2 separate regions of the Homo sapiens genome follow, and region 2 is linked to region 1. The links are contacts of gene promoters, found by promoter capture Hi-C in human tissues and cell types (Jung and others, 2019). All regions are on one chromosome and are shown on one strand. Each heading gives the region's core, a stretch centred on a gene start or on the middle of the fragment in contact. The rest is flanking DNA. Distances are from core to core; before and after follow the strand shown. Region 1 holds the start of JAK2 (Janus kinase 2). Region 2 has its middle 11 kb from the start of SLC1A1.

The links. The method cuts DNA at HindIII sites, captures the fragments that hold promoters and counts their contacts. A contact is called where the count stands out against the background at its distance.
Region 2: a contact is called between a fragment that was not itself captured here and the fragment with the promoter of JAK2 in region 1, in 1 of the 25 tissues and cell types used here (aorta).

What each region holds. Positions count from the first base shown.
Region 1 is chr9:4,983,664-4,989,912 of GRCh38, forward strand. JAK2 (Janus kinase 2) reads left to right here and starts at 1,609. Exons shown (of 25, transcript NM_004972.4): 1 at 1,609-1,967; 2 at 2,277-2,359. RefSeq lists enhancers at 660-1,493, 1,422-1,561, 2,362-2,411 and silencers at 1,142-1,191, 1,232-1,311, 1,702-2,031. The HindIII fragment of the contact is 10,820 bases long and covers 1-4,163 here.
Region 2 is chr9:4,476,068-4,481,934 of GRCh38, forward strand. It overlaps a transcript of GLIS3 not described here. Among named protein-coding and RNA genes, the nearest start is that of SLC1A1, 11 kb to the right of the region's middle. The HindIII fragment of the contact is 4,442 bases long and covers 1-4,091 here.

The DNA of each region.
Region 1 (6,249 bases), core at 359-2,858:
TATGTAAGAAGAAATGCAGGAGTTGCTTTGGTGAGGTTTATTTAAAGAAACCATTAAGTGCAAGACAGACCTGAAGAGCAGCATCAGTTGTGTATGGGGAAACAGGAGCTATGAATGCGTCACTTCATTTAGGTTGACAGAAAGAGGGCTAATACTTGAAAAAAATCCCTACACGATCTGGTGCCAGGCTACTTCTTTGGCCTCACCTCTTACCACTGCCCCCTCCTTCCGTGTCCTCCAGCCACAGTGACCTCTTTCCTGATCCTTGAACTTGCCAAACACTTTCCCTTCTCAAGGTCTTTGCCTTCAGGAGTCCCTCTGCCTGAAATTCTTTTCCCAGATAGTCATGGGACTGGTTCATTCTCATCCTTCAGATCTCTGCTCAAATGTCACTTATTCTAGGAAATCGTTCCTGGCCACCGTAAAATAGCACACCCCCTCCTCACTTTCTACTCCTTTTCTTTGTTATTATGTATATGGCAGCAGAAAACTATGCATTTTCTTAGTGGCAATTACACACCCCGCACATTATGCATTTAAAGCGTTGTTTGTTGTTTTGTCGCTTCCATCAGAATACAATCCAGTAGGGCAAGGAGTGTGTGGGGTCGTGTTCACCTGGTATCTCTGGGGACCTACAGCCCGGCACCTAGTAGACACTCAGTAAATATTTGAATGAATGAATGAGGCCCTTTGGCAGCCGGGAAGCCCGTCACAGCCGTTGTCTCCACCCTCTCCCGGGCTACACCAGGCCACGCCGGTAAAGTTGTTTCTCCTCTAGGAGAAACATTCGCTAGGCCTTGTTGCCAACCCGCAGGCGGCTGGGCGCTTCATCCCACCCTCACCCCTTTCCAGCCAAGGTGGCTGATGGGAGTCAGGCTCTCGAGGGCGCATTGCCACGAAACAGCGTGTGTGAGCGCGTTGTCCCCGGCCCCCGGCGCCACTTCCCCTCGGCCTAGCAGCCTGGACTGGGGAAGGACGGGTCTGCTGTACCCGGGAGGTGGAAGGAAAAGCCGAAAGCGGAGAAGTGTGCGGGAGGGGAGTCTCCGCGCGGAGGCAGCCCGGCCTCCTCCAGTGCAGGCTGCGCGCTGGGGAGCCAGCCAGGGTGAGTCACTCCCGGCCGCTTCCCTGGAGGGCGGCGGCCACACACACACCCGCCCATCTAGTGAGGGCCGGGCCCAGCGCTGGCGCCTAGCTCCAGCCGGGCACCAGCGTTTCGCGAGGCGCCGCCGCCTTAACTTCCTTGCGCGCTCACGCCCAGGGGCCGTCCCAGGAATCTCCACGCGCGCTCGCCGGCTTCCCGAGAGGCAGCTGCCCTGCGTGGCCCGCGCCTGCCGGTCCCGCGACCAGCACCGAGCGGCGCACGCGCACTGCAGGACGCGCGTCCGGCTCTCCCCCAGCCTCTATCCGGCCCGGTCTCCTGCCATTCGGGGAGACTGCAGGCCAACCGGGAGGCTGAGTTCGAAGCTAGCAGGGCGGCGAAGCCAGTGTCGCCCGCGGCGTTGAGAAGACGGTGTGGCCCCGGAGAGGGTGGAGACAACTGTGACGGGCTTCCCGGCTGCCCGAAGTGGGAGTGGTGTGGGGCTGCAGGAAGGAGAGAGGAAGAGGAGCAGAAGGGGGCAGCAGCGGACGCCGCTAACGGCCTCCCTCGGCGCTGACAGGCTGGGCCGGCGCCCGGCTCGCTTGGGTGTTCGCGTCGCCACTTCGGCTTCTCGGCCGGTCGGGCCCCTCGGCCCGGGCTTGCGGCGCGCGTCGGGGCTGAGGGCTGCTGCGGCGCAGGGAGAGGCCTGGTCCTCGCTGCCGAGGGATGTGAGTGGGAGCTGAGCCCACACTGGAGGGCCCCCGAGGGCCCAGCCTGGAGGTCGTTCAGAGCCGTGCCCGTCCCGGGGCTTCGCAGACCTTGACCCGCCGGGTAGGAGCCGCCCCTGCGGGCTCGAGGGCGCGCTCTGGTCGCCCGATCTGTGTAGCCGGTGGGTGTTATCTCTGCCTGGCTTCTGGGTGGGGGGCAGCAGCTGTCTCTCCACCCCCTTCCTACCTTTTGGTCCCGCCTGCCCCCTGCTAGTGGCAGCAAACTTCTGAGCCAGAAAAATCTTCCTCTTTAAGACGACACCTAGAACGAGTCTTGCTGGTGATATTTGCTTCCATTTGTGTCTTATAATTCCCTCGCTCCCGCCTCCTTATTCCTTTTTAAAATTTTCTAGACACTTAAACAGCCTAGAAAAAGCATTTGTTTCCCCTGGATTTATGTGGTAGTAGTTAACTGCTGCTTCTGTTTTTAGGTTTCAGAAGCAGGCAACAGGAACAAGATGTGAACTGTTTCTCTTCTGCAGAAAAAGAGGCTCTTCCTCCTCCTCCCGCGACGGTGGGTGTGCTGTCCTTTATCGCTGCAGTAAAGGCGAAGGTGTCTGGAGCTGGGAGTGCGTGCGTAGGGAAGGTTGGAAGCGTGTGAAGAGAGGCAGGGCTCATTGTTGCTTACTCTTCTGAAAATGTCAGTGCTAAACTTTTAATGTTGATCTGGGAGAGTAATTTTGGGGTGTTTTGTTGTTCGTCTTGGATCCTTTAAGAAACATTTTTTTGTTGGCTTTACACATAACGTGACTTTGCAGAGAAACGAAAAACGTTGTCCATTACCCTTTCTTCTTAAGCAGCCAGAGATTCTTAATCCTTTAAAGAGGAGTATTTCCAAGCAATAAGAGATAGCTTTTGGGAGAACACGTTAGCTATTCTTGCTGGGGTTTCTGCTACCACATTGAATGTTTCCTCATGGTTTTATCTGCCTAAGCTTGCTGTGTCGGTTGAATTTACCCAGTTTGTTTTCCAGTAATTACTAATCTGTTAGGAGAAACTCCATTTCTCTGAATGAAAGGGTAGGAGCGGCTGAGTATGGAGAAGGAAACTGGAAGTGGGAATAAGGGAAATGATTGCTTTTGGTTTCATAATAAGTTTGTACAGTGAGTTGTTGGGCTACTGCAAATAAAGATTTTGTATCCCTTCTCCAGAATGCTTGGGACCAAAAGTGTTTTGGATTTTTTTTAAAAATTTTGGAATGTTTGCATATACAAAATCAGACATCTTGAGGATGGGACCCAAGTGTAAATACGAAATTCGTTTGTTTCATATAGACCTTATTCACACAGCCACTAAGTCATTTGCAATATTTTTAATACGTCTGTGCATGAAACAAAGTTTGTATTAAGTACCTATGCGGGGAATTTTCCCCTTGTAGCATCATGTTGGTGCTCAAAATGTTTCAGATTTTGCAGCTTTTCAGATAAGGGATGATCAGCTTGTATTTTGATATAACACCCAGAACATTTGAAGATGAATAATCAATTTTTGGCCTCCCTTCCCCCATCCGCCTCACCTTATACCACTTTAAGTGTGAGAATTATTTGCTTGTACATGCATTTGTCTGTTGGTGTGTAACGTATGTACAGACTGGATGTATCCAGCACTTGCCTTAATAGTACATGTATTTACCTGAATAGGAAAGCTGCAGTACTTGCTGGCCAGAAGAGCACACCATGCTTGTTTTTGCTCTAACTGAATATCCTGTATTTGCAATTTATAGCAGTTTTAGGGACTCATTAGGGAATTTTGTGTGTGTGTGCCTTTGGTGATTTGAGACAGGTGTCTCAGATATGGGAAGGGAATATGACATTGTTTCTCTTTCACCTGGCTATTACTGAAAGGTGGGATGCTTTTGAGGCAGAATAGGAAAGTGCATTGGCTTTGGAGTGAGATCTGGATTTGAATCCTGGTGTTCTTGCCACTTAAGAGTTGCATTATTTACGGCTGGTCATGGTGGCTCACGCCTGTAATCCCAGCACTTTGGGAGGCTGAGGAAGGAGGATCACTTGAGGTGAGGAGCTTGAGACCAGCCTGGCCAACATGGTGAAACCCCATCTCTACTAAAAATACAAAAATTAGCCGGGCGTGGTGGTGCACACCTGTAATCCCAGCTACTCGGGAGGGTGAGGCAGGAGAATTGCTTGAACCTGGGAAGTGGTGGTTGCAGTGAGCCGAGATCTCACCACTGCACTCCAGGCTGGGCAACACAGCAAGACTCTGTCTAAAAAAAAAAAAAAAAAGAAAGAAAAAAAGAGTTATATTATTTACGACTCTTTTAGCTTCACTTTCTTATAAGATTGTTGTGAGAAGTGAGTAAGACACATGCAAAGTGGTAAACTGCCTGGCTGTCATAAAAGTCTTGGCTACTATCACGGCTGGGAGGCAAAGGAGATTCAGAGAAGGGCAGAATGACTGCATAAGGTGATCTGCCTGTAACTCGTGTTTCCTCCTTTCTAGTATAAAGAGATAAAGGACTTCAAGGTCTTAAACTGGTGAGGGAGTATTACAGCCTTTGTATGGAAAGGTTTGACTTTGTGTCTCTGCTTAAACCCCCATTGTGTTGCCCCTACCAATTATTGTGCTGCCCCCTTGTGGTTAACTGTGCTAAGACCTTTCTTTTGCTCTTCTCCCATTACATTTCCCACCCTTCCCCACTCCCTTTTAGACCCCTCCTCTTAGCTCCCAGTTTCCCAAACTGTGTGCCAAGGTGCCCAGAGCACCTCAGGCTTGAACTTGTGTTTTGAGTTGGTTCATGGTTTCAATATTAGATACCTACACCCGTTTCTACAATGTCATGTCTTTGTAAAGATGTATTTTCAGAGGTTGCTCCGATAAAAAGCAACTACTACATGAAAATGAATGTAGAACAGGAAATGACAGTGTGGTATTGTCCAATTTGATTCTAAGGTTTGATAAGTTCTACAGTGCTCTACACTAAGTTGTAAGGACATAACTACTAAGTAAGTTGTTCAAACCTATTTCTTTTGGCCTGGGGGTGTCGTGAAAAATTTGCTAAGACTCAGAGCTCCCTGAATGGGTTTGGAAACCTCTGCCTTAGCTTTTAGTTTGCTTTTCTGATAAAATTATTGATATAAAGCTAGTACCAGCTGATCATGGCTTAATATATTTCCTCTCCTATGTAATATGTTTATAACTTCTGCCCAGTTCTTTCATTTTAAAACTAATCCTATTGCTAACTTGTTGTACTAGTCACTTCCTGGTTTTTCCTGTACTGGTCTTCTGCTTCTACTTCTGTTCATCTCCTTAAACTCCGAATGCCCCAAGTGAAAGTTACCATTTTCTACCCCTTAATTTTCTTCTAATCATGTAGGCTTTAAATTAGGCATCATCTTTAAACTACTTCTTTCATTTACCTCTTATTCCCATTCAAAATGTCCATATTTCCTTTCTTTCTCATATCTCTGCTTTCCCTCCTTTACTGTGTGAATCCCAGGACACATTTCCTGAGCCTAGAATATTGAAAGTCATTTGAACTTCTGAGAATTCAGTGTCCCTTCCTTCTGTTTATCCTCAATAGAGATTCCACTCTAATACTCCTTATTATAGCATTCCCTTGCCCCAAAACCTTCAGTGGCTTACCATTTTCTACTTATTAAATTTTCCTGACTTTTAAGATAGTCTATTATCAATCCCTGCCCTATTTATTTAGTCTTTTGTCTAAGGATCTCTAGTCCTTAAGCTTGTAAGCTGATTTCCACACTTTCTAATAATAAGCTATGCTTCTTCTATCCTTTAATTTTTGCCCATGTTCTCCATCCCTCTTTTTTTTCCTCTATTTCTGTAGCTCTTTAGTCTTAGAACATTTTCACATGGTTTAATTATATGCCATGCTTTAGTTGTTTGATAGTTATTTCCCTAGTGTTAGCCATATCTTTTCAAGTTGATTGTGTATTCTTTGAGGAGCAGTACCTTAGATTAAAAAAAAACCACAACACACAGTGGAGAGCACATGGGCAGCATTCAAGAAATACATGTTGATTGTGTGATAAGGAACTGTAGTCACCAAACAAATATTTGTTAATACTTGCAATGTAAAAGGTACTTGGCTGTATTCAAAAGAGAAATAAAGAAATATAAAATAGGCTCCTTTCCCTAAGGACTTACAGTATAATTGGGCAGATAAGCTAAATAATAAAAGTTACAGATATTTAAGACCACTTGAGTTGAGCAGAGATTTTGCATAATAGGAAGGAACTGGTAGAGGGGGTAAGCAAAGGCAAAATATGTATATATGTATGATATGTTCAGAGAGCAGTACATAAATAACTTGACTGAAATGAAGATTTGTGTGAAAGAGTAGTAAGAAATTGTGTTAAAAATGTAGTTGGAATTTGATTATGGATGTCTTTAAATGCTAGGATGAGAAGAATGTACTTTGAC
Region 2 (5,867 bases), core at 621-3,120, 510 kb before region 1:
TTTTGAGTGAACTATGTAAATGTTTTAAATAATTTAAAAATTATGAAATTCTTAAAAACCAGTTTCTGACATTTGAAAACAAAGGGATGAATGTAATCCACTGATGAACAAAATCATATTCATACAATGAATATAATCATAGCTGTATATCAAATTGATGGAATAACACAGGGAAAATAATTCTTTACAGTATCTTTTAAATATAGTAATTTGATTATATATCTTTACTGGTGTATCTCTGGGGACCATGAGAACCACAGAGAAATCTTAAACTGAATTCAGTGGGGTTTTTTTGTTTTTGTTTTTGTTTTGAGACAGAGTTTCCCTCTTGTCACCCAGGCTGGAGTGCAATGGCAGGATCTCAGCTCACTGCAACCTCCGCCTCCTGGGTTCAAGCGATCCTCCTGCCTCAGCCTCCCAAGTAGCCGGGATTACAGGTGCCTGCCACCATGCCCAGGTAATTTTTGCATTTTTAGTAAGGATGGGGTTTCACCATGTTAGCCAGGCTGGTCTCGAACTCCTGACCTCAGGTGATCCACTCACCTCAGCCTCCCTAATTGCTGGGATTACAGGCGTGAGCCACCATGCCCGGCCCAGTGGTCTTATTATTAGAAATAATATGGGTCTTGTTTTTTTTTTAACTATTATGTGTACATTATAGTATTAGGAAATAAGTACTTGAATTAATGTTTTTAAGAACCAAGATTTTCAAGGAAAAGAGAAAAGAAATAAGAATAAAAATTTCTAAAGTGTAGCCACAATCCTAAAAGCTTAAATTTGAATTGATTCATCTCTGTTAGAATAGCTGTTTTTAGACAGAATTTTAAAAACTAGAAAATATAATAACAAATATTGGTGAGGATGTGGAGAGACTGGAACCCTTGTTCATTGCTGGTGGGATGTAAGATGGTACACCTGCTATGGAAAACAGTACGGCAGTTCCTCAAAAAATTAAATATAGAATTACTATATGTTCCAGTAATTATGCTTCTGGGTATATGCCCAAAATAATTTAAAGCAGGGACTCAAACAAATACTTGTACGTCCATATTCACAGCATTATTATTCACAATAACCAAAAGGCGGAAGCAACCCAAGTGTCCATCCACCAATGGATGGATAAACAAAAATGTGGTAAATACATACAATGCAATCTTAGCCTTACAAAGGAAGGAAATTCTGACACGAGTTTCAACATGTGTGAACCTAAACGACATGATGCAAATTGAAATTAGCCACTCACAAAAGAACAAATATTCATAGATACAGAAGTAGGATGGTGTTTGCTGGGAGTTAGAGTGGGGTGGGGGTGGGAGGTGGGGAATAGGACATTAGTGTGTTTTGGGGGGGCTGGGTTTTTTTTTGAGATAGGGGTCTCTCTTTGTCACCCAGGTTGTAATGCAATGGCGTGATCACGGCTCACTGCAGCCTCAACCTCCCAGGCTCAAGTGATCCTCCCCCCTCGGTCTCTGGAGTAGCTGGGACTGCAGATGTGCACACCACACCCAGCTAATTTTTGTATTTTTTGTAGAGATAAGGTCTCCCTATGTTGCCCAAGCTGGTTTTGAACTCCTGAGCTCAAGCGATCCTCCCGCCTGGGCCTCCCAAAGTGCTGGGATTACAGGCATGAGCCACCACTCCTGGCTAGAGGTTAGTGTTTAATGGGTTCAGAGTTTCAGTCTGGGAAGGTAAAAATGTTCTGGAGATGGATAGTGGTGACGGCTGCAGAGTAATATGAATGTACTTAATGCCACCAAACTGTACACTTAAAAACATGGTAAAATTAAAATGGTAAAATTCATTATGTATATTATACCATAATAAAAAATGAAATTGGAAACAATAATATGAACTTATCATTTGTCTCTTGCTATGAAATACATATTTCTAAGCCTTGTCCACTGAAAAGGCCCAGAAACAACATAGCAATGAGCCACGATTACCAAGACTGTAGCTCCTGAATACTATTTCCCATGAACCGGAACCTGAACGCTTTAGAGAAATAACTGATTCCAGTTTCAGGGCAAAAAATATACAAGATGGTCTTGGGACATCTTGCTGAGTCAGAAAACAAAGACACTATTGAAACAAGTGGTTGTTTAAAAAACACGGATGCCAGAATGAAGGGGCTCCCATTGGCCAAAGATGGGATGATTTGAGCGTGGGAAAGGATCATGATTGTAACTGATTGGAACACATAAATCTATCCAAAACACATATAAATCCATGTGTTTGTACTAATACTTTAAAAATAAAAAGCCCCGGCGCAGTGGCTCAGACCTGTATGTAATCCCAGCAATTTGGGAGGCCAAGGCGGGAGATCACTTGAGGTCAGGAGTTTGAAACCAGTCTGGCCAACATGGTGAAACCCCCTCTCTACTAAAAATACAAAAATTAGTTCGGCCTGGTGGCGGGCGCCTATAATCCCAGCTACTCCGGAGGCTGAGGCACGGAAATCGCTTGAACCCAGGAGGTGGAGGCTGCAGTGAGCTTAGAGTGTGCCACTGCATTCCAGCCTGGGCGACAGAGATTCCATCTAAAAAAAAAAAAACATCAGTAGTCACCTTTGGAAGTTGCAAGTGCACTAATTCATTATTGAGAAAACCAACCAAGGGAAAGAAATTAAGCATTTATCCTGCCTTTTCTGTATAAAATCTATTTAGGGTAACCAAATAGTTGATTCCAGAAAATATATGCAGAAGAAATGTTAGAATTAGAATGAATTTTTTAAAGGTCTTCACCATCACCAATAGATGCTAAAACCATATGTGAAGGGTTGATGGTGAATTTATCGTAGTTGAATCAGGCTGACATCAGAATCCACTGTTCAATCTTAGCATTATGAAATAGCAAACCTCTACATCTAACTACCAACTTATAGGAAATATTGGGGATAGAGAAAAAATTAATTTCCACTATGAAGAAGGAATTAGCCAAATCCAGAATGTGGGGAATTTTGTAAGACAAACGACCAAGTACCTTTATTTTTTTAAATATATATATTTTTCAATGTTCCTGCAGAATTTTTTATTATTTTTTGTAGAGACAGGATTTCACCATTTTGTCTAGACTGGTGTCAAACTACTGGGCTTGAGCAGTCCACCTGCCTCAGCCTCCTAGAGTGCTGGGATTATAGGCATGAGCCACTGCACCAGGCCTCAACCTAGTCCCTTTAACAAATAAATAAGAGAGATTGTAGAATAAAAGATACTTTACAACTTAACCAAATGTCATGTGTGGACTTATTTAGATCCTGGTGTCCAGAGCATTGTCCTTCATGTCCCTGCTTGCAACATTCCCTGTGGGCCTTTGTGGATAAAATCTACAGCTGTGAAGATGTATTCTTTCCTGTCTTTTGGCTCAATTAGGGCTCAGGGCATTTACCTACACCTCACTTCAAGGCCTACACCTCACTTCAGCTACTGCTAGTAACAAATATGCAAGTCTGTACATTGGGCCAGTTCACAGAGGTTCCCTAGACTCTAAGGAGGGTCACTCACCCAGCCCATGACCATACTGTGGCTCTCAAGTCAGCACCCCTGCCTCCAGTTACCAAGGGTGGTTAGGAAATGAAATCTCAGAGTATCTCTCCACCTGGCCACACTGCCTTGCTGTGTTGGTGTTGGTGTGGTTGTGGCTGCACCCCAGGTTAGGAAGGGGCAACCTGGGAGGCAGACCCCTATCTGGGGAGTGGGAGACAGAGCTGCTACCCTCCTTTTTCTAACATACACTCCTTCCTGGATGAAGCTTAGAGAGAGAAAACAGGACCACCATCGCTTCTCCTGTCTCCCTTCCTTCTTCCCATCATTCTCTTGACCACACAATAATTTCTTCTTCTTTTTTTTTTTTTTTTTTTTTTGTATTTTCAGTAGAGATGGGTTTTCGCCATGTTAGCCAGGCTGGTCTTGAACTCCCGACCTCAGGTGATCCGCCCACCTTGGCCTCCCAAAGTGCTGAGTGCTGGGATTGTAGGCGTGAGCCACGGCGCCTGGCCTTGACCAGAAAATATTTTCTTCTGATTCCCTATGTTTTCACCTCCTGCTGTGATAGAGTGACAGATGTTATAGGTGGAGACGTGTCTTTCTTACACTACAGAAGAATTCTGTGAGACAAGTTTTCCAGGCTGGGCTTTCTTTTTTTTTTTTTTTTTTTTTTGAGATGAAGTCTCACTGTGTTGCCCAGGCTGGACTGCAGTGGCATAATCACAGCTCACTGCAGTCTAGACTACCCAAGTTCAAATAACCCTCCCACCTCAGCCTCCCAAGCAGCTGGGCCTACAGGCATGTGCCATCACACCTGTCTAACTTTATTTTTTGTAGAGTCAGTGTCTCATTATGTTTTTCAGGCTGGTCTTGAAGTCCAGGTTCAAGTGATCCTCCCTTTATGGCCTCGCAAAGTGCTAGGATTATAGGCATGGGCCACCATGCCCAGCCAAGCTTTAGATATTCTAATGAAGAAATGGAGGAATATGGCATATTCTTTCTCAATAATCCTCTTTCCTGTACCTAATGCTATATATCATACAGAAGTGGAACGTTACCACATTTTCAAAATTCCTCTGTAACAAATCATAATATCCTCAGCATACGAACGCCTTGGCCTACCGGGGCAAAAAGCATGTGCTCAGGAAGGCAAAAAGAAAAAAAAGCACATTAATAATTTTAATATTACCCTTAACACACACATACATTTAATTGGAATTGTAGAATGCATATTGTAAATTTTATATTTTCAAGTATACAAGTAATAAATTACTACACCTTCATTGAAAAAAAAAAAAAAACCCACCTACTGGTTTTTTTTCTGAGACAGGTATTGCTCTGTTGCTGAGGCTAGAGTACAGTAGCTTGATCTCAGCTTACTGGAGGTCCGGACCTCGGGGGTTCAAGTGGTCCTCCCACCTCAGCCTCCAGAGTAGCTGGGGCCATGGGCAAGCACCACCACACCTGGCTAATTTTTTGTATTTTTTGTAGAGACAGGGTTTTTCCATGTTGCTCAGTCTGGTCTCAAACTCCTGGGCTCAACTGATCCTCCCAAGTGGGCCTCCCAAAGTGCTGGGATTACAGGCATAAGCCACCTCACCCAGCCCTATCTACTGTTTTATAACTTACTTTTGCATTTAAAAACATAACTAGGCCAGATGTGGTGGCTCATGCCTGTAATCCCAGTACTTTGGGAGGCCGAGGCAGGCGGATCACCTGGGGTCAGGAGTTCAAGACCAGCCTGGCCAACATGGTGAAACCCTGTCTCTACTAAAAATATAAAAATTAGCCGGGTATGGTGGTGTGTGCCTGTAATCCCAGCTACTCAGGAGGCTGACTCAGGGGAATCGCTTGAACCTGGGAGGTGTATGTTGCAGTGAGCCTCGCACCATTACACTCCAGCCTGGGCAACAGAGCAAGACCCCATCAAAAAATTAATTAATTAATTAATTAATTAAAAACATAAGTGTGTGTGTGTGTGTGTGTGTGTGTGTACCGTTTTCCAGTGTAATTCATTTCCCCATGTAATTCCCATGTAATTCAGGTCAAAGCTAAAATATGCTTTTCAATCTCTAAATGATGTCTCATTATCTAGTGTACTTTTACACACTTAATCTTTAGCCAGTTCACTTTACTAGACAGTTAAGTTGTTTCCAGCTGAGCTGGGGTGAAGAGCCCTTGTGCACATCTTTGGGTATTTTTTTCGTTATAAGTTTCTAGAGGTAGAGTGTTTGAGTTAGAGAATACATGCACTTATGACTGATGTTACTAATTGCCTAACTGTCCTCAGAAAAGTCACAGCATTGTCTGGGTCTACCCGCAGGGTGTGACACTACCCATTTCTCCATACCTTCTCTAAGTTTACAATTTATAATGTTAAAAGTA